4 separate regions of the Homo sapiens genome follow, and all the other regions are linked to region 1. The links are contacts of gene promoters, found by promoter capture Hi-C in blood cells and fetal thymus (Javierre and others, 2016). All regions are on one chromosome and are shown on one strand. The core of a region is centred on a gene start or on the middle of the fragment in contact, and the rest is flanking DNA. Distances in the headings are between cores, read along the strand shown.

Region 1 (5,035 bases), core at 2,009-4,508:
GTCAATAATCGTGATATATCACATCAACAGAATGAAGAATTAAAAAAATGATCATTTCAATAGATGCAGAAAAAGCATTTCATAATATTCAATATCACTTAATGATAAAAACTTTCAACAAATTAGGCATAGAAGGAAAGCACCTCAACACAATAAAAGCCATATATGACAAACCCACAGCTAACATACTGAATGGGGAAAAGATGGAAGCTTTTCCTCTAAAAACTGGAATAAGACAAGGATGCCCACTTTCACTACTCTTATTCAACATAGTATTGAAGTCTTAATTAGATCACTTAGGCAAGAGAAAGAAATAAAAGCCATTCAGACTGGAAAGGAAGAAGTCAAACTGTCCCTGTTTGCGGATAACATGATCTTATATATAGATAATGCTAAAGATGACCAAAAAACTCTTAGAGCTGATAAACAAATTCGGTAAAGCTGCAAAATACAAAATCAGCGTACAAAAATCAGTAGCATTTCCATTTATAATTATACCTACCCAAAAAAGTCTAGGAATAAATTTAATAAAGGGGGTGAAATATCTCTAAAATGAAAACTACAAAACACTGATGAAAAAATTAAGAGGACACAAAAAATGAAAAGTCATCCTATATTTATGGATTGCAAGAATTAATATTTTTAAAATTACCATGCCATCCAAGGTAATCTACATATTCAATCCAATTCCTATCAAAATACCAATAACATTCTTCACAAAAATAGAAAAAAAACCCTAAAATCCAAACAGCCAAAGCAATCCTAAGCAAAAACAAAAACAAACAAACAAACAAAAACAAAGCTGGCAGCATCACACTACCTGACTTCAAAATATACGACAAAGCTATGGTAACTACATGGCATGATATTGCATAAAAATAGACGCATAGACATAGAGAACCTAGAAATCACATACTTATAAAATTGTGCTTCTGCTCTTTAAGAAGAAATGTGGATAGATATGTTATGGGTAACCAATAGTGACTGCCACAGTGGTTGTATAAATTCCTGCTCCTGTAGAAGTGTGTGTGTTTGTGTTTGTATGTGTTTTACTTGCTAATATAAGGTTTTGTTTTTCAGTCATTTTGGAAGTTTGTTGTATGTTATAGGTAAACTCTGGTTCACATTCACATTTTCATGATAAATGGTTAAGCATTTTTTCCATATATTTATGGCCATCTGAGTCTCCTCTTCTGTGAACTATGTTTATGTTTTTGTTCTCTTTTGATATTTCTTATCTACCTGAGGAGCTCTTTATAGTCTAGATATGAATTATTTTGTAAGATGTATGCATCACAGATATTTTCTCCCAGTCTGTGTGCTATGGACTGAATGTTTGTGTCCCCAAAAAACTCCTATGTTGAAATCCAATCCTCCCACCCCCATCCTGCCTTCCAAAGTGATAGTATTTGGATCTGAGGCCATTGGAAAGTGATTATATCATGAGGGTGAATCCCTCATAAATAGGATTAGTGCTCTTGTAAAAAGTACTCCAGAGAGCCATCTTGTTTTTCTGCCATGTGAGGACATAGTGAGAAGATGGTGGTCTATAAACTAGAAAGTGGGCTCTCTTTGACTGGGACTGCTCAGCCTCCAGAAACTATGAGAAATAAATGTTGTTTAAGCCACTCAGTCTATGGTATTTTTTTATACAGCCAGAATGGACTAAGACACTGTAACTTATCTCTTAATTGTATTTTGGTGTCTTTTACGGAACACATGTTTTATTTAATGTTATAAAAAAAATGCATTTTGTCGTTTATGCCATTGCATCTAGCTTAAGAAAGCTTTCCTTACTGGAAGTCATAAATTCTCCTATCTTTTTCTAAAAGTCTTAAAGTTTTGCTCTTTGTATTTAAGTTTCTTTCATCTGAAGTATATTCCATGTAAATAGAGTGAGGCAGAGATCTTTCTGACTTTTTCCCATGTGACTAACCAATTATCCCGGCATTATTTGTTATTTTTTTATTTTACTCCTGAATTTTAATGTCACACTTGTCATACACCAAGTTATCAAATATGTGAATCTGTTCTGAGTTTTGTTTTGTTGGTCTATTAATTTTATTTCTGACACAATAATACAGTTGTATAATTACAACATTAGAATATCAATATCTGGTAAAGTAATATCAGTGAAACTGATTTATGAATTGCATGTAAAAATTTTAAGGCCACCATGTCAATGTAATTAGCACTGGCCTACAGATAACCTATTGATTTGACCACTTTGCTCTTGTATGTAGAAACTTTGCTTAACTCTCCTATTCCAGTTCTTCAGCTGTACAATTATTGGATTTTCTATAAAAAAAAATATTCAAATAATCAATATTTGATCTTCCCTAATCCATATAACTGGTTATTTCTTTCTTATTTCATTGGTTAGGAACTCCAGAGCAATGATGATTATTGGTGGAGATAATAAGTATTAATGCTTGTTCCTAATGTTAATGGGAATTTTATAACTCTCATACATTATTTCTAGGATAAATCATATTTGATCATAATGCATTTTTTAAAATGCTTGATTCAATTTGTCAACATCTTATGATACTTGCATGTACTCATAAGGAAGATTAACCTATAATTTTTCTTTCTCTTATTTTTCTAGTTCAGCTAACTAGAATATATTAACTTCATGAGAGAAACTACAGAATTTTCCTCTTTTTCTGTATTTTGTAGCATTTTGTGCTAAAGAGATTTTTCTGTGCTTTGAATGTTTGTTGGTAATCCCTGTGTAAAATTTTCTAGACTTACTGTTATTTATTTTGGGTAGGTTTTTGCTTACTAATTCAATTTTTCCAAAGGCTTTCTCCTCAGACATAGATTTACTCTTGAGTCAATTTTGGTAATTTAAATTTTTAGTGATGCCCACCTGCAAAGGGCCAGGTCTGGCATACAGTTTGAAATTTGCTGCCAGAGTCCCATTTTGCAATCCCGAACTTCTGGTGGAGACTGGGGTGTCCATGGCCCACTACCCAGTGGCGAGTAAACTCTTTGCTCCCAGACTGTTGCAAGAAGCTTAAAGGATGGCCTCCAGATCTGGAACAATTATGTTCTCATATTAATAAAAAGATTAACAATATTTTTAAAAATCTGTCATTGAGAAACTGGCCAAGAACCTACCTTGAAGAATATCTTAATAGGAGATGAGATCACTGTAAGAAATGAACTTCTAAATAAATTTGAATAGGAAATTCAGTATTAAGAACAAACCAACAATTCACTCAAGGAACTCTGTAAATCTCTTGAAGAATATTATAAAATGTGGAATATCTCAAAGAAAACTTTCCTTCCCATGTGCCTCAAATAACAGGTCTCAAACTCCTAGCCTCAATCAGTCCTCCCACCTCAGCCTCCCAAAGTGCTGGGATTACAGGTGTGAGCCACTGTCCCCAGCCATAATTTATTTATATTTTATTTCTTTAGCTTTTTCATCTTCTATCCTGTTTCATATAAAATTCAAACTTTTTTGGATAAATTTTTTAATCAAATGCTTCCGTTTAAGTTAGTTTTAGCATTTATTTTTATAAAATTTTAGCATGTAATTTTAAAATAATTTTTTATATTTTAAGATCATACCTGTCCATGTGACTCCAATTCAGCTGTAAAAGATCTGAGAAATATTTGATCTGTTGTCCAGGAAGAAAAGGAGAGGAGGAACATTCTTCTATCATTTCACTCTTACCTGTATATGAAGAATATACTTACCTCCCCCGAAGGAGGACAATCTGAAGTCCCTTCTAGTTAGTGCATTCAGCTCAAAGCCCAAGACATTCAAGAAATGTGTCATCTTCTCCAATACGTGAATGTTTGAATTCTCCTGAAATAAAATCCCATGAACTGAAGAAATATCCTGTCTTTACCACCACTCCCATATACACCTACATGTGAGGGTGCATGCATGCACATGAACACACACACATCTAATATACAAAATGAATCAAGGACAGAAGTAGCTATAATAGGAATCTGATTAGTAAGGGTAGGAATGGAAGGCAAGCAACAGTAACCAGTGCATATAGATCTTAAACAACAGATCGCCAAACACACTGCAGAATGATAAGAGGGTCTGAAATGTAATACATCAAGTGTTAATGTGCCAGACCTAGAAGTGGCAAATGTCACTTGGACATATTCCACTGGCTAAAACTCAGTTACATAGGCCCAGTAAAATGATAAAAAGCCTATGTAAGTTTTGGTTGTATGCCAAAAAAGAAGAGGACAAAATGGATATTGATGTGCACTAACAGTCTGTGTCATCATGGTGACATGATCCTTCTATCATGAAGTAATCAACCTCTTTAGAGAAAAATCATTATTAGACTTAAAGTTGTTTTCTAATATCAATATTACTGTCAGATCTATTTTGGTCCGGTTCCTGGTGTACAGTTTTTCAACCTATGACAGTAAGTTCTCAACGTTGTTGATAGGGTCTTGGAAACTTCAACTTCAAGTGAGATGCCATGTAACAAAACCAGTTTTACTATAGGCTAATTAATATAAACAAGAATTAGTTCCTATGGCATATTTGTATCACAAAAACATCAACAAATTTCTAAGTGAAGACTTGAAACACTTCTAATGTTGAATATTGATATAAATGTAAGCTATACATACATTTAAGAAAAATCAACAAAAATAAGTAAGCAATTTGTCCAATTTTTGGTGAATCAGTGAGTGACAGCCGTCATCCTGGTGGTAGGTTAAATCAAGAAATAAATGTTTGTAAAGTGAAAATTGTCAGGAGTACCTCCTACCAACACACAGTTCAAAAACAAACAATATTCAATAAGGCAGACTCTCTAAGCACTTTCATACAACATTTCTTATTATTTTGCATTTGTATGATTATCAAATACTTTATATTTTATCTTATAATAATTTGTATTCATTTATTCTTTCATTTTCCAACCCACTTACTCCAGTTCAGGTTACAGGAGGCCAAAGCCCATTCAGCAGTTCAGGATACAAGGTGGGAAGCAACCCTGGCCATGACACCATCCCAACACAGGGCACACTCATACATATACCCACA
Region 2 (5,780 bases), core at 2,200-4,699, 96 kb before region 1:
CTCAGCCTCTTGAGTAGCTGGGACTACAAGCACATGCCCAGCTAAATTTTTTATTTTGTTGTATGGACAGGATCTGCCTATGCTGACCAGGTTGGTACAAATGAAGTTTTATTGGAACACAGCTACACCCATTCCTTTGTATATTATCTATGTCTGCTTTCATGCTACAACAGAGTTGAATGATTACCACAATTACTGTATGGCTCAGAAAGCCTAGAATATTTGTTGTCTGGCCCTTCACAGGAAAAAAAAAAAAAAGTCAATTCCTGGCCTAGAGGATTGAGAGAAGCTTTATGATTGACCTGTATTTTGAAGGAAAGAAGTTTGTACTGGCAAAGTCATAAGTGAGGGGTGATTTTGGGGGAAAGGAATGTGCCAGCATAGCACTGGAAAGACACCTGGCTTACTCAGAAGGTAGTGAACACATCAGTGCCACTGGGGTGAAAAGCTTATGAAGAAACTTAAGATGAATGATGCATACTGAAAAGACAGGTGGGGCTCATCTTGAGGACAGTCTTGAATGCTTGGCTTGAGGATGGGGAGGAAAGAAGTACTTCCCATGCCCCTACACCACTTCTATTTTCCTGTGGAAAATAAAGACCAAGTAAGCATTTTTTTAAAAAAACTGAAGAGTGACCTATTCAAAGGAAATTTGATAGAAAAACCTTCCATCAACTAATTTGGCAACAATTGTGTAGAATGGAAGGTTGGTAGGAAGAGAATAATAAAAAGATAAAGGATATTAAAAACAAAGATTTAGTTAGAAGACTCTTAAATTGTTCTATCAGTAAAAAAGCAAGACAAAGAGAGAACTGTGTGGCTGCCTTATGGATATCTGTACACCCAAAGATCTACATAGAGAACACACTTAATGTACAATGGGCAAATAAAGGCACAAATGGATAAAAGGGCAGTAGGAAAGAGGGAAGTGGAGATGAGAAGGACCGCAGGAAATGGGGAAAGGAAAACATTGATGGATTTTGGCAACTGACTGAGTGAAGAAAACAAAAAATAGACACATTAGTAGATTAAGGTAAGCAAGGAAACCATGTTTAACATTTAGCTTTACCCATGCAGAATTTTAGGCAACAAAAGGTCATTCACAAGAAACTGTCTAGCAGCAATTGGAAATGTGAGACGCTAGCTCTGGAGCAAGATCAGTCAAGATAGGGATGAGAAGCACCCATCTATTCTTCAGAGATAAGTCTAACAATCCCAACGTGCTTCTCATGAATAACTGGCAGGAACTTACTATGCCTAGATTTATTTTAGGATGGGTATGCAACTTTCTAAACCTTCCAGAGTGAGTTATATAGACAGAATTTCTCACTGTGCAGCAGTTTGCATCGTATATTAAAGATGAACTTATTAACATGACATTCATTGTCCTCAGAGATTCCACAATCACATCACAATTTGCACTAACAAAAAGAGGAAGGGAAGGAGAGAGGGAGAGAGGGAAAGAAGGAGAGAGAAAGGGAGGGAGGGGGAGAGGGAGGGAGGAAGGGAGGACAGAAGGAAGGAAGAAAGGAAGAAAGGGAGGGAGGGAGGAAGGGAGGGAGAGAGGGCAGGCGAATGGAAGGGAGGAATGAAGTGAGAGAGAAAGAGAAGCATTAAGGCACCATTCTGTTACTGGCAAACAATCGCTTGCTTCTGGAAAATTTTGACACAGACTAAATGAATAGTAGAAAATACTGATTTCATTTTATCCGTTTTCCCTCACCTAGATATTTCTTAAATGGAGTCTAGAAAATAGGTTTTTCAAAGTGTGCTTATAAATATTATGTATTTATTTGCAAGGCTGCTCTGGAATACTTCCCTGATCATGCCCATTTCCAGCAATTATCATTTTAAATTATGTTTTAACAACTAAATGATCCCAGGAGCACAGAAAGGGGCATATAACAATTTCACGGTGTGATACCCTTTCTATGAACTGTACTGACGCCAGTGGATTACAATAAATAAGGCAGCTTTTACCTCCAGCAAACTTAACCAAAACCATACACATATATCCACAAAAACCTGTAGGCAGTTCCACATTTTCTTGATGAACACTGGGCTTTCTTGAAATGTATACTTAGCCATGGAGGCTAGAAAGTATCTCTCTCTGTTTTATAAGCATCATTATCAGAACAATGGTATGCAGGGAATGAAACATATCTCCACTGGGATTTATGTTCACAAAGAATTCAGAAAGCACAGAATCTGCACCTGCTACAAGATAATATTGGGCATGGAATTAAAAAATAAAATTTCAACACAAAGCTAAAGATATTTACACTAGTTGGGATATTTACTGTACTGAGTTATGAGAAAATTAAAATTTAACCTCTTATAAAGGCACCCAAAGTCCAGAATATTAAGATACTATAAGATACAAAGAATTTAGATTTGTACTGGAAAACAATAGAAAAGATACTACAGATCAGATTACAGTGGAAGGAAGGGAAGGGCGGACAAGGTCCTGCCAGTTCTTTTTTTTTTTTTTTTTTTTTTTTTTTTTTGAGACCGAGTCTCGCTCTGTCGCCCAGGCTGGAGTGCAGTGGCACGATCTCAGCTCACTGCAAGCTCCACCTCCCGGGTTCACGCCATTCTCCTTTCTCAGCCTCCGGAGTAGCTGGGATTACAGGCGCCCGCCACCACGCCTGGCTAATTTTTTGTATTTTTAGTAAAGACGGGGTTTCACCGTGTTAGCCAGGATGGTCTCGATTTCCTGACCTCATGATCCGCTGGCCCCGGCCTCCCAAAGTGCTGGGATTACAGGCGTGAGCCACCGCGCCCAGCCCTGCCAATTCTTACTATTAATTCTGCCCACATACACATCTTATACTAAGTTTTCTACTTTTAATTGAGTTAGAGAATGCCCCAGACTCTACACTCTGGTCGTCCTGTCAGAAGTAACACTGAGACCGTCAAGGATGGGAACAAGACCTCAAATGCTTTTCTAGGTCTTTATTTGCAGCCTGTTACACATGATATTGACCATCCTTTCCCCAAATAATTAAGATGACTCTTTCCACCTCTACTCTGTAACTGAGGGCCCTCTTGTCACCTTATGACTGTGGGACAATGAAATGAACAGGAATACTTAAAGCTGCCTACTAAAGCCCATGACCAGTCTGCCATGCTGACTAATTTTGAGAAAAAAAAATTAAACCTTTGAGAAAAACTAAGGACTTTTTCTTAAGGATTTTATTTATTACACCTGTTCCTCTATGCATCCCTTTTTCTCTTGAACTAAAATACTCATTTACTACAAGAGGAAAGCGTGAAAGAAACCTTCACATGTTATACCTATTACTCACTTCTCACAAGAACATGAAGGACAACACTGTCCATGTAATAGTGAGCAGAGAGGTAGTTAAGAATTTCAAATACCAGAGTGAGTTCCAAGATTTATACTCCACCCCAGCCCACCTTTCTTTATATCAATTACAGAACCAAATAGCCTCTCTCTCTCTCTTTCTCTCTCTCTCTCTCTCACACACACACACACACACTCCAAACCCCCCAGTAAGTTAAGAACATTCACAGATGTACATCACATGCAAATCTATGTAGTAGAAACTGTGACCAGCTCTGTACCTTATTTGGTTTTGTCCCTGCTGGATTCAGCTGCCCCTACCCTAGCACTGGCATAATTTTGCCATCAATGGAAAGAGTATATTCATATCAATCCCCTATTAGTCAACAGAATAATTAGCTGTCATCAAAAAATAACTCAGTCAGCTGGGCATGGTGGCTCATGCCTGTAATCCCAGCACTTTGGGAGGCTGAGGAGGGTGGATTGCTTGAGGTCAGGAGTTCAAGATCAGCCTGGCCAACATGGTGAAACCCTGTCTCTACTAAAAATACAAAAATTAGCTGGGCGTGGTGGTGCATGCCTGTAATCCCAGCTACTTAGGATGTTGAAGCACGAGAATCGCTTGAACCTGGGAGGCGGAGGTTTCAGTGAGCTGAGATCGAGATCGTGCCACTGCACTCCAGCGTGGGCGACAGAGCAAGACTCTGTCTCAAAAAAAAAAAAAAAAAAAAAAAAGTAACTCTGTTAGTAAAATCTGTAACACTCTCTAATTTAGTAAGTATAGCCTGCAAAGGTAATCCATACTTGCTTTCTTCCCCTGCTTCATTTCCCACTCCCCTCTTCTCATATCCTACTGTAACATCATCTGCATAGAATTATCTTTCTAATCCATAATACGCCATACTCTTTCATGATTCTGGGTCTTTGAAAATATTATTCTTTTTTTCTCTTCAACTTTTAAGTTCCGGGATAGATGTTCAGGATGTGTAGGTTTGTTACATAGCTAAATGTGTGCCATGATGGTTTGCTGCAAAGATCAACCCATCACCTAAGTATTAAGCCCAGCATCGATTACTACTCTTCATGATGCTCCCCCTCCCCCTAGCCCCACTCCTGATGGGCCCCAGTGTGTGTTGTTCCCCCTCATTTGTCCATGTGTTCTCATCGTTCAGCTCCCGCTTATAAGTGAGAACATGCGGTGTTTGGTTTTCTGTTCCTGCATTAATTTGCTGAGGATAATGGCTTCAGCTCCATCCATGTCCCTGCAAAGGACATGATCTCCTTCCTTTTTATGGCTGCATAGTATTTCATGGTGTATATGTACCACATTTTCTTTATCCAGTGTATCACTGATGGTCATTTAGGTTGATTCCATGTCTTTGCTATTGTGAATAGTGCTGCAATGAACATACGTGTGTGTGTATCTTATAACAAAATTATTTATATTCCTTTGGGTATACACCCAGTAATGGTATTGCTGGGATTAATGGTATCTCTGCCACAGCAGCTTTGAGGAATCACCACACTGTCTTCCACAATGGTTGAACTGATTTACACTACCACCAACAGTGTATAAGTGCTCCCTTTTCTGCAAAACCTCACCAACATCTGTTATCTTTTGACTTTTTAATAACAGCCATTTTGACTAGTGTGAGATGGTATTTCACTATGGTTTTGATTTGCATTTCTCTAATCGTCAGTGATGTTGAGCTTTGTTCATATGTTTTTGGCCACATGAATGTCTTCTTTTGAAGTGTTTGTTCATGTATGTACTTTGCCCACTTTTTAATGGGATTGTTTGTTTTCTTCTCATAAATTTGTTTAAGTTCCTTGTAGATTCCAGATATTAGACTTCTGTCAGACGGATACATTGAAAAAAATTTCTCCCATTCTGTAGGTTGTCTGTTTACTCTGGTGGTTTCTTTTGCTGTGCAGAAGCTATTTAGTTTAATTAGATCTCATTTGTCAATTTTTGCTTTTGTTGCAATTGCTTTTGGGGTTTTCATCATGAAATATTTACCCATGCCTATGTGCTGAATGGTATTGTCTAGATTTTCTCCCGGGGTGATTATAGTTTGGGGGTTTACATTTAAGTCTTTTTTTTTTTTTTTTTCTGTGAGAATGAGTCTCGCCCATGCTGGAGTGCAGTGGCACGATCTTGGCTCACTGCAAGGTCCGCCTTCCAGGTTCATGCCATTCTCCTGCCTCAGCCTCCCAAGTAGCTGGGACTACAGGTGCCTGCCACCACACCTGGCTAATTTTTTTGTATTATTAGTAGAGACGGGGTTTCACGGTGTTAGCCAGGATGGTCTCGATCTCCTGACCTTGTGATCTCCCCGCCTCGGCCTCCCAAAGTGCTGGAATTACAGGTGTGAGCCACCGTGCCCAGCCCATTTAAATCTTTAATCTATCTGGGGTTAATTTTGTATAAGTTGTAAGGAAGGAGTCCAGTTTCAATTTCCTGCATATGGCT
Region 3 (5,613 bases), core at 2,127-4,626, 76 kb before region 1:
CCCAGGTTAGAGTGCAGTGGCACAATGAGGCTCACTGCTGCCTCCACTTCCCTGAGCTCAGGTGATCATCCTACCTCAGCCTCCCAAGTACCTGGGACTACAGGCACGTGCCACCACAACCAGCTAATTTTTGTATTTTTTGTAGAGACAGGACTTGTTCCCCTTGCCCAGGCTGGTCTCAAACTTCTGGACTCAAGCGATCCACCTGCCTTTGCCTCCCAAAGTGCTGGGATTACACATGTGAGCCACTGTGCCTGGCCTGGAACTACTTTTCAAGCTATTAGATACCTACAAACATAAAACTGCTTTCTTGCATATGTACAACCACACTTGCACCCCTATCTCCACTACCTACCTCCCAACCCCAAACACATACTCTTCAGGAAAAATACAGTACTACTACTACTACTAATAATAATAATAATAAAATATTGATAGCAAGCGAATAAATGGCACACAATATATTTGAAGAGGCTTTATTTGCAAAGAAATTATGTGAAAAGGAGTGCATGGAGCATATATTGGAGCCATGAAACATCATTAAGAACCCAGAGCTATTAGGATTGATTCCCTTATGAAAAATAAAATGAAATTAAAAAGAACCCAGAGCTATTAGCTGCTAGCCATCTACCACTACCGCCATAGGCTTCGGAAGATTTGGAAGTTGATAGAAGAGGAGAGTGTATCACAGCAAGCTACTTTAAGAGGAAGGACTAAAGACTTTCTGTGGAGTGAACATAGCCAGCCTGAGAAAACTTCACACGGAAGTAAATATCATATCTTCTCTCTATTCCTTCCCTGCCATCTACTACTAGGGCTTTCCACTGGCAAAACCCAACCAGAAGACCGGGGGGCTAGAGACTATTGATATAATGGAAACAAGTCAACCCCGGGAGGAAAAAGGCAGGATAGAGAAGGATAGCAAGAGGATTTGTAGAAGAAAAGAAAAGTCATCTGACATGGCAACATTGGAAGGAGCCTGAGCAGAGCAGAAAAAGTCACTGATTTGCAGCAATGAATGTTTCATAGATGGCTCTTATCTCCCTGTGGCAGAAGGCTTTGAGTGTGAAAGACCCTGGAAATAATGGGATTCTGCTCCCAGGGAACTCAACAAATACTCATTGATCAGCAGCTACGATGTGTCAATAACTATTCTAAACAGTAGGGATTTGAACATGAATAAACCATGGACACTGTCCTGAGGAAGGTCATAGCCCAGGAAGAGAATCAGGCCCATAAACAGACAATTACAACACAATATAAAAAGTCCCATCAATGAAAATATGAACTCCTTAAGGGCATGGACTGAATCATATGCTTTTTTGTATCACCAGAATGCAGCAAAATGCCTGCCACATAGTAAGGACCAAATAAATGTTAAATAAATGAGAGGTATAGGGATTGTTCACATAGGTAAGCTCGGAAGAGCTAGGTCTGCTCTCTGATGAATAAGTCTTCAGCATATTTGTGAAATGGGCAAAATTTACAGCTCACAGGTATCTTTTTACACCTCCATTTAAAATATTTTTCATTGCTTGTTCTCTAAAAATATTTAGGGTTTCCTTTTATTGCATATGTGCTCAGTGAAGTACTCCATCAAACTTATATGGACTGCCTTCTTTCCACTGTCGTTTAAGACTTATCCCATGTACTTAGGTCCCTACTTGCACTATATATACACATATACACTTTTAAATATGCATGTGTGTTTTTAAATTATTCAGTATATAAAATATTTAATTAGATGATAAGGAAGACACATTGAATCATTGGGAAAAGGATGGTATACTCAAATGCTGTGGAACACTTAGCTAGCAATTTTGGGATGAAGGTAAAATTAAAATCTAATCCATGCCTTATATTACAATAATTTAAGATTGAATTAAGTTTCTTCTTTTTTTTTTTTTTTTGAGACGGAGTCTCACTCTGTCACCCACGCTGGAGTGCGGTGGTGCAATCTTGACTCACTGCCAGCTCCACCTCCCAGGTTCACGCCATTCTCCTGCCTCAGCCTCCCAAGTAGCTGGGACTACAGGCGCCCGCCACCACGCCTGGCTAATTTTCTGTATTTAGTAGAGACGCGGTTTCACCGTGTTAGCCAGGAAGGTCTCGATCTACTGACCTCGTAATCCGCCTGCCTCGGCCTCCCAAAGTGCTGGGATTACAGGCGTGAGCCACTGCACCTGGCCTGAATTAAGTTTCTAAAATGAAAAATAAAATGATAAAAGTATAAGAAGAAAATTTGTAACCTATGCTCATCTTAAGATAGGAAAATTTGGGTATAGAGAAAAATAACTGTTGTGAACAAAGGTGACAAATAAATGACGAGAAAAATATTTGAAACGTATATGACAAAGGCTTAACTTAATCTCCACTTCGTAACAGAGAAGAGGGCATTATGACTAGGCTTAGAAGGCAATTGGGAAAATAATGTTTCCCCAAAATACAAATAAATCCACAAATATAAACTTTCTCTCCAGTGTTCTGGCTTAGTAAATGAATAGAAAACATAATGTAAAATTATACCAAGACTAGCCAGAGTATGAACAATTTGAGGAAATACACAGGTTTGTAAAGAACGCTTACAAATCAATAAGAAAAAATAAACACTTCAATAGAAGTAAAAGGCATAAAAAAGCAATTAACAAAAAATATAACTGGACAACAAACATGAAAACAAGTTTTTATTTTTAATCTGTCAAATTGACAATGATTAAAAGAAAGATTAAAATCCAACCTGAGATAAAATGTAGGAAAATTGGCACTCACTTTTTTGGCAATACAAATTACTTCAGTGTTGTAGTCAATAGACTTTTACACTGCAAGTGAAAGATGGCCATGATATTGTCAAACAGAAGCCAAATTTTAAAAAATAAAACATACTGTGGCTATTTGATAATATGAAGGAATCATGGTTAATTTGTTAATGTTTGATATTCATATTTTTGTTTGTTTTGTAGAAGAGTTATCTTTTAGAGGAACATATTAAAACATTTATGGATGAAAATAATAGATCATATAGATTTGCTTTGAAATAATTTAGGGTTGGAGGATTAGAAGAAGGTATAGATAAAACAAGATGGCCAAAGACTAATAATTGTTGCTAGGCATATGGGGATTTCATTATACAGTTTTTCTACTTTCTTATAAGTTGAAAAAGATTTTCCATAATAAGGTTTTAAACTGTTTATATACTAATGTCCAAATTTTATTAAACAAATGATATCATATATGCATGATGCATGAAAAAAGAACTGATGAAAGATACCAAAAGTTATCTTGGGACCAATCTTTATTTTTCTCTTTAGTTCTCATACGTTCTGAAATTTTTACTATGAACCTAAGTTACTTTTGATAGCTAGTAAAATAATTTTTTAAAGATTGTAGTCAGTGCAGTCACCTTAATCTTATAAAACAGGAGCCATGAAAAATGAATTAACATATATTTTTCTAGAAGACATTTTTACTCCCAGGTAGTTCACCATTTTTATATTATTTCTCTTCACTCTACCTACTTTTAATGTAGGATTACCATGCATACTGGTCATTGTTTGAGATTTACTTTTCTTTCATAATTTATTTTCTATTCAATCCCTTTTCTTCTTCCTACTTGGTACATCTCAATATTAGGCCTTCATTTTAAATAAACTAACCACAATTATAGATTATTAACTAAATCCAACATTTTGTCCCATCATACTTTCATCTAAAACTGGTGAGAACTCATTTACAATGTAAGCTATTATATTTGTAACACAGAACAATAATTTTTAAATCTTAAGATGTTTCAGATATTCAAGCAGACACGATTGTAATGGGACTTGCTGGCAGTAATGTTAAAGTCTACCAAAGTAGAACTGCATTCTAAATGATTTTTTTTTTAATAACAGCAAACTAAATTTGTCCCCTGCAGTTAGGCAGATTAGGGTATTATAAAAACAAAAAGAAAAGTGACACTTTTACAAATGGAGTGTTGTGGGGGGCGGGGGGCAGTGAAGTGGGACCACCTCCAGTTAATTTTGAGGAACACATAAACTGTTAACCTCTCCCCACTGCAAATTTTGAAAAACACTTGTTTTGTAATAATAATAAGAATGTGATCGTTTATTATTATCATCACAACATTGTTTGGGCATCTTACGTGGTCACCAATCCTACTAACCATCTTCTCAGGTCTATATTAGTATACCTCTATTACAGTGGAAGAAACTGAGACTCAGGAAGATTAAGCATGTGGTTCAAAGCTGCACAGCCTGGATTCAAATCCTATGTCTGTCTTATAACAAAGCCTGTGCTCTTTTGATTCTACTACCTTGCATTTACAGACTGATCGCATTACACAGATTGATAGGGAATGAAGGGGAGAAATGGTAGGGGCAGGAGAGTATGCAGTGTGGCAACAGTAAAGGGAGAATAAATACTCATTTAAGCTGTGGTGGTTATTCTTATTCTATGCTTTCAGTAGTAAATGTGCACTACAGGAATTTATATCAACAACTTAAATTTACAAAGACATACCTCTTGCCGTTTGCTGCATACCAATGTGTACTAGGATGATTCATGGATTCAGAGGATATTAAAACTAGAAGAAACAATAGAGATCATCTAATGGAATCTTTTCCTTCCCTCTACACATAAAAAAGAGGAATAAGAGAATATTGTCAAGTGTTCCTTCAGCTATAAGTTCAACTGCTATTGCATTTATGATAGCAAAAAAAAATTGAGTGTGAATTTAATTTTGTCTGAAAACCCCTAAAATGGCATACATATCTATACACCAAGTATAGTAAATACCTCATATATTCAAGTAAATATGTTACAGTGGAAGAAGGGGCAAGACACTGAACTGGAAATGGAAGCACAGGGCTTTGGTTTCACTCAGGTTTCTAACAAGTTTTGTGACTTGGATTACTTCAACTGTCTTGTGAGTAAATAGAAGTAATTGGACTAAGTTCCCTTCTCTTGGGCTCTCCAAAGGGGAATAACTTGCAAGTTCTAGTATTGAGGATGCAGCTCCTTTGCTAACAGACAAGAGTGTGTTTGCTTTCCCAAACTAAAAGTAAATCCACAGGTATATACTATATCTCCCCAATGTTCTGGTTTAGATAATGAATAGAAAACAGCAATTCCAGGTATAGTGTGAACAATGTGAGGTTATCCACGGTCTTTTTAGACATTTGCACCCTAGTTAAGATACTGTAAACTTAACCGAGTAGAAAAGAAATCAGAGTGAGCAGGGAACTGATGCTCTAGGATCTTAGGTAATTGACAATCAATACAGCCACAGAAGAATCAGAAACATTGATTTATTTAAGTAAAAGAAAGTATAGCTACACAATATTTGCCCTATGTTCTCGATCAGGTTTTTAAAAACTAAATTTGGTAAAGCGCAGTGGCTCCCGCCTGTAATCCAAGCACTTTGGGAGGCCGAGGCAGGTGGATCACGAAGTCAAGAGATCGAGACCATCCTGGCCAACATGGTGAAACCCCCATCTCTACTAAAAATAAAAAAATTTTTTAAAAATTAGCTGGGCGTGGTAGGGTGTGCCTGTATTACCAGCTACTCAGGAGGCTGAGGCAGGAGAATCGCTTGAACCTGGGAGGCGGAGGTTG
Region 4 (5,344 bases), core at 2,573-5,072, 90 kb after region 1:
GAAATGCCTGTCTGTATTCACACTAGGATATTTTCTCATTGCACAAATTTCCATATTTTTCTCTGATCAAGTGAGACAGATTATAAAACACAAAGGCCCCTCTAAGGCCCTTCGGATGTGTTCCAGCAATATGCAGCAGCCCCCCACCCCCTTTTTTATTTCCCCTGTGACAGGGTCTCTCTCTGTTGCCCAGTCTAGAGTGCAGTGGCACAATCTTGTCTCACTTCAGGCTTGACTTCCCGGGCTTAAGCTATCCTCCCATCTCAGCCTCTCGAGTAGCTGGGATCATAGGTATGTGCCACCATGCCTGGCTAATTTTTGTATTTTTTGTAGAGATGGCGTTTTGCCATATTGCCTGGGTTGGTCATGAACTCCTGGGTTCCAGCAGTCCCCTCCTCAGCCTCCCAAATTGCTGGTTTATAAAGTTGGGAGCTACTGCGCCTGGCCACAGCACACATTTATAAAAAATGTTCATGTGATTCCAAATTTAAAATAGAGTGATTTCTGTGACTTTTTTTAATTGTTCACTTTTTTAACATGCAGTTTCATCTTAGATGTATGATATTGTATGTAAATTGATTTGTATTTCTAAAAAAATGAAATTAAGGGACTCCATATCTACCTGTAAGATTTCTCAACAAAAATTTACAAAGCTAGCTGGGAAGACATGTATGTACTTCTTGAATTTCCTCCTGCTATTCCTTTTCCCCATCTTCCTTAGAGAGGCAAAGAAGAAGAGAGAGGGAGATTTACTTTTAAAATAGGAGAACATTAAATGCTTTATTATTAATGTGTTACATTAAGCAGTTTTAAGTCATAGTATCTCAAGTACATACTATCCTTTATATTGCCCCCAACACCCAAAATATACACACATTGGGAAAAGAATGGGGGCTCTTTGGGGGTTTCCTTCTAGAGTTGCCAGGTGAAATAGAATTTCTAGTTTATTAATAGTATGGCACTTGCAGCCCCAATTAATTTGAATGCTCTATAATGTTCAAAAAGAGTTTTGAGAAAATTTCCTCCTAAAATTAATGCCTTAGTAGAAAAAAAGATTGGTTTCTCCTGTTCTCTTCCCCAAATTAGATGGAAAGTAAACAAGACTGGAAAATAGGTAATTGAGACTAAGATGATTCACAGATTGATCACCCATTTTGCAACAGTCATAAAATTTGTTAGTTTTTTTGAAGAAGTTTATTAATCAGTCCCATATCCTTTGAGTATCCTCTACTCCCCTGTGATACTGGTTTGATATTAATTAAGCTAATATTTACTGGGTTCTTGGTATCCATTAGGTATTCTTCTAAGCAACTTTATATGTGTTAGCTCATTTAATAATAATATTAAGCCAACATTCTCTGAGGTAGACACTATTATATTCCTTTTATAGATGAGGAAACTGAGGCTCAGAGATAAAGTAATCTGCCTACATTTGCGCAGCTAGGTGGCAGAGCTGGGATTCAAAGACAGTGACTCTAGAGTCTTTTAACCGTTCTACTATAAAGCCTATGTAGTATTTTTCATTTTTGTATTTTTCTTTAAAGGAATTTAGTACAAGTCATTAATTTTATTCTGAGGTTGAGATAGAAATTAATTTCCCTAATTTACAAGTGATGGTAACGACATAAAAAATGTAAAGACTTGGCCGTAACTGTGGAGACAGTTTCTGACGAGATTTGGTATGTTTAGGGTGGCATTGCCATAGATTGGAGGTTTCTTGGGTTTCTGTTAAGTCTTGGTCTTCTGCTAGTATGCATTGTCTCTTTTGAACAAGCTCAGGGAGTGTCAGCATAATCATACTTCTTTGAGTTCTGTCAGCCTAAACTGTTTTCACATTCTTTTCACATGTCAGAATTTTTGGCTGGGTGCAGTGGCTCACACCTGTAATCTCAGCACTTTGGGAGGCCGAGGCAGGCAGATTACCTGAGGTCAGTAGCTCGGGACCAGCCTGGCCAACATGGTGAAACCCCGTCTCTACTAAAAATACAAAAGTTAGCCGGATGTGGTGGCACACACCTGTAATCCCAGCTACTTGGGAGGCAGAGACAGGAGAATCACTTGAACCCAGGAGGCGGAGGTTGCAGTGAGCCATAAGAGCATGGCACTGCACCCCAACCTGGGTAACAGAGCAAGACTCCGTTTCCCAAAAAAAAAAAAAAGAGAGAGAACTTCCTATGTGGACGTTAAAAAAGAAAAGTTTTTGTTTTGTTTTTTACATTGGCATGGTGGTTTAACTAGATGACTTATAAAGTATTTTTCAACATTGTTTTATGAGTCAACACTTCTTCTTTCATTGGACAAATACTTTTAAAACTTATTATTGCTATGTGCCAGGTATATTCTGTGTTATAATTGCCACAAATGTGAGCAGATTGATAAACTTTAACTTAGATGATGAGCTATTGTTTAGTAATCTCATGTTACACTCAGAGTATTCTCATACCACCAGTATGATTCTTATGCTTATGTTTCTTTGAGGTATTCTAGATTCCAGTTGAATTTTTTTTTAAACTTATTTGAAAACGGTCACCAGCAAATCTACTTTTAAAGAGATATAATAAGGCTTTGACTGTGAAGACTTAAGAGTAATAGTGGGGTTGATTAAATATGTTTTCTTGTATTTCTTTGTAATTTTATTGCTGTGACTATTTGTAGAGGCAGAAAGTGTAGCATTTTTAAAAATTGAGTATTTTAGACAAATAACCACTCCCAAAGTGTTCACTCTTGGGAAATGTTATATCTTTGTTATTGAGAGTATGTTTTGTAAAGCCATATCCCACCTGAAATAAAAAGAATTACAGACTTCAGAAAGTTAAGGTAGACAGCATTTTCTTGGCTACTGGGGCTAATTAGAATATATGATTCTCTATGCAGGACAGCCACCTTAGGGACTCTGAATCTCTCAGTAGGGTAAAATTTTTATATTTATATAAAAGATTGTGGGTTAAAAAATGGTTGAGAAATACTGTTTTTGAGTAAACCCAAGGACTGGTGTTTAAAGGTTATATAGTATTTTACTTAGGTTCTAGAAATCTGTAAGGTGTCTGAATCAAATCTTGTAACATTGGATTTATTGTGATTTATTTATAAAACATTTAAGGATCAAATCAACTAAGTAAATATTTACAAGCTGATGGCTGGATAATTTAATTGCAGTTTATAGTCATAATCAAGAATTGACATGTTTTGCTTTATGTGTTTGAAGCTTACGACCTTTTGACATGAAGGAAATTGCTAACATTTAGGAAATAGTTACTTATTTAGATTAATGTCTTTCTCCTGAACTGACTTATCCATTTTAATGCTCAGATCTTAGAAAGTACATAGATGTAAAAAATCGACTCGGTGTGGTGGCTCACACCTGTAATCCTAGCACTTGGGAAGGCTGAGGTGAGCAGATCACTTGAGTCCAGGAATTTGAGACCAGCCTGGGTGACATGGCAAAACTCTGTCTCTCCAAAAAAAAAAAAAAGCTGGATGTGGTAGCATGTGTCTGCAGTCTCGGCTACTTGGGAGGCTGTGGTGGGAAGATGGGTTGAGCCTGGGAGGTGGGGGTTGCAGTGAGCTGAGATCGTACCAGTGTACTCCAGCCTGGGCGACAGAGTGAGACTCCCGTCTTAAAACAAAACAAAACAAAAACAACTAAAAACCACAAATAAACATATATATTACTTAAAATCATAAGTTGGATATTTCTTATAAAGTAGTAATTGTGTAATGCCTCATGTATCTCTGTGTATCATTTCAATGGTAAGTTCAAAAGATGAAGGAGATTAAAGAAAAACCTTTTTCATCTTGACACTACCTAAGACATAACAGAAATTTAACAAATAACAAGTATATAAAAATAGAGATTTTTAAAAATTGTCCTTAATTTTATCTTTGTTGGGTATATAAATCTGCTCTCTGGGATAGTTCTACTGCTTTAAGTAATGAGGAATGCACTAGTTTCATATTCTAAGGATAACCTAAGGATATCCCATATATTTTCACAACTAAATAAACTCATAGCCTGAAATTTCAAAATTTTATTCTCTTATGTCGTTAAATTATAGTTCCTTAGGGTTCATTTACGATCTCTGGTGTAAACTTTCCATTTCAGATTTAAAAAGTCCCTGAGCTCTTGAAAGTTAAATTTACTTGTCATTTGTCTCAAAGATAATGGCTGAACTAAGATTAGGATTTTAGAGGAATGCAGTATTGATTGTTCTTTCCCTTCTTCCTCTAGTACTAACAGGTTACAATTATATTTTGTTTGTTAAGTCGTAATGGAACGCTATAAATAAGTTCATTATTTTCAGCCTTATGCATAGGGCTCTAAATAAATAGCTTGGTTTTAGAAGAAAACTAAAAGTAATTCTTTCCATAAGTTTTAAGTTTCTGTGTTTTTGTTTTATTTTTAAAAATTAAGGAGTCAAAAATAATGGGCTTTTATTACAACAAGCTTACAAAAATAGTCATAGTAACATAATGCTTTTATCATTGGCTTATATATTATATAAAATACATACATTATTACACATATAAGATTACAAATAAACTTTGGTAAAGCTGAAGTACTATATTATGTTACATAATTGAATATATCAATGTAATATGAATGTTTATTGTTTTTCTCTGGATGTTTCAAATTAGGCTGTAAGTATCTAAGGATGAGTTTGGCTAAACTATCAAATGTAAAAATATTTTATAGCAATTACTTTGGAGATTTGTTACCATGCCTGTATGATACTTCTAGTATATTTCTAAGCATGTTTCTGTTTATATCAGTCCATGAGGCTTTTATAGGCATACTTGGTATGCTAGAGTTACAGCCAGTTTCTTAAGTAGATCATTTGATAGTATGTAGGTAGAACACAGTTAAACTGAGAGCAAGAAGGGTGAAGGGACAAAGGTGCTATTTATTCTCCCACATGTTTGTTACATAAATTTGGAAAGTTGAGTGCAAATGTAAAATGTATAGTCATGGAGTAGATTATCTTAGAGCCAAAGGGATTAATCAGCTTCACGTTCAAACAGGAAATTAAAATAGCATCCTTTAGACAGTGTAATTCTGTTTTCCTGTCGCAGGGCACAAACACTAAAATGGAATAAAACATTTTATATTCTCATAGGTTCCATGTGCCTTGTGAAGTCATGGTTCCTCAGTATAAGATCGAGGTAGTAAATTAATCATTTCCATTTGTCTATCTTTTATTTTTCTAAGTAAAGATCTGGTTGCAGTAGTGTTTATATTTTGAATAGCAGGCAATCCTGGAAGTAGGGAGATGGGTAGAAATGGAAGAGATTTATATATGAGATGACTAGGACTGAGCTTTTAGAACAAATTAAAGACCAAGTAAAT

What was found. Contacts are between HindIII fragments. The CHiCAGO score rates a contact against its expected background, and 5 or more counts as called.
Region 2: a fragment that was not itself captured here is called in contact with the fragment with the promoter of LINC01949 in region 1 in 3 of 17 cell types (M0 macrophages, M2 macrophages and M1 macrophages); the score reaches 9.8 in M0 macrophages.
Region 3: a fragment that was not itself captured here is called in contact with the fragment with the promoter of LINC01949 in region 1 in 3 of 17 cell types (M2 macrophages, M0 macrophages and M1 macrophages); the score reaches 7.3 in M2 macrophages.
Region 4: a contact is called between a fragment that was not itself captured here and the fragment with the promoter of LINC01949 in region 1, in 1 of 17 cell types (M0 macrophages). The highest score is 7.1, in M0 macrophages.

The regions. Positions count from the first base shown.
Region 1 is chr5:87,235,943-87,240,977 of GRCh38, forward strand. It overlaps LINC01949 (long intergenic non-protein coding RNA 1949), which reads right to left and starts at 3,259. Exons shown (of 3, transcript NR_130914.1): 1 at 3,124-3,259; 2 at 2,873-3,039. The region is part of intron 2 of LOC101929380 (a long non-coding RNA gene); the gene reads left to right. The HindIII fragment of the contact is 4,009 bases long and covers 3,017-5,035 here.
Region 2 is chr5:87,139,606-87,145,385 of GRCh38, forward strand. The region is part of intron 2 of LOC101929380 (a long non-coding RNA gene); the gene reads left to right. Among named protein-coding and RNA genes, the nearest start is that of MIR4280HG, 20 kb to the left of the region's middle. The HindIII fragment of the contact is 6,007 bases long and covers 447-5,780 here.
Region 3 is chr5:87,160,080-87,165,692 of GRCh38, forward strand. All of the region lies in intron 2 of LOC101929380 (a long non-coding RNA gene), which reads left to right. Among named protein-coding and RNA genes, the nearest start is that of MIR4280HG, 41 kb to the left of the region's middle. The HindIII fragment of the contact is 7,822 bases long and covers 1-5,613 here.
Region 4 is chr5:87,325,824-87,331,167 of GRCh38, forward strand. All of the region lies in intron 1 of RASA1 (RAS p21 protein activator 1), which reads left to right. It also overlaps a transcript of CCNH not described here. Among named protein-coding and RNA genes, the nearest start is that of RASA1, 61 kb to the left of the region's middle. The HindIII fragment of the contact is 1,239 bases long and covers 3,204-4,442 here.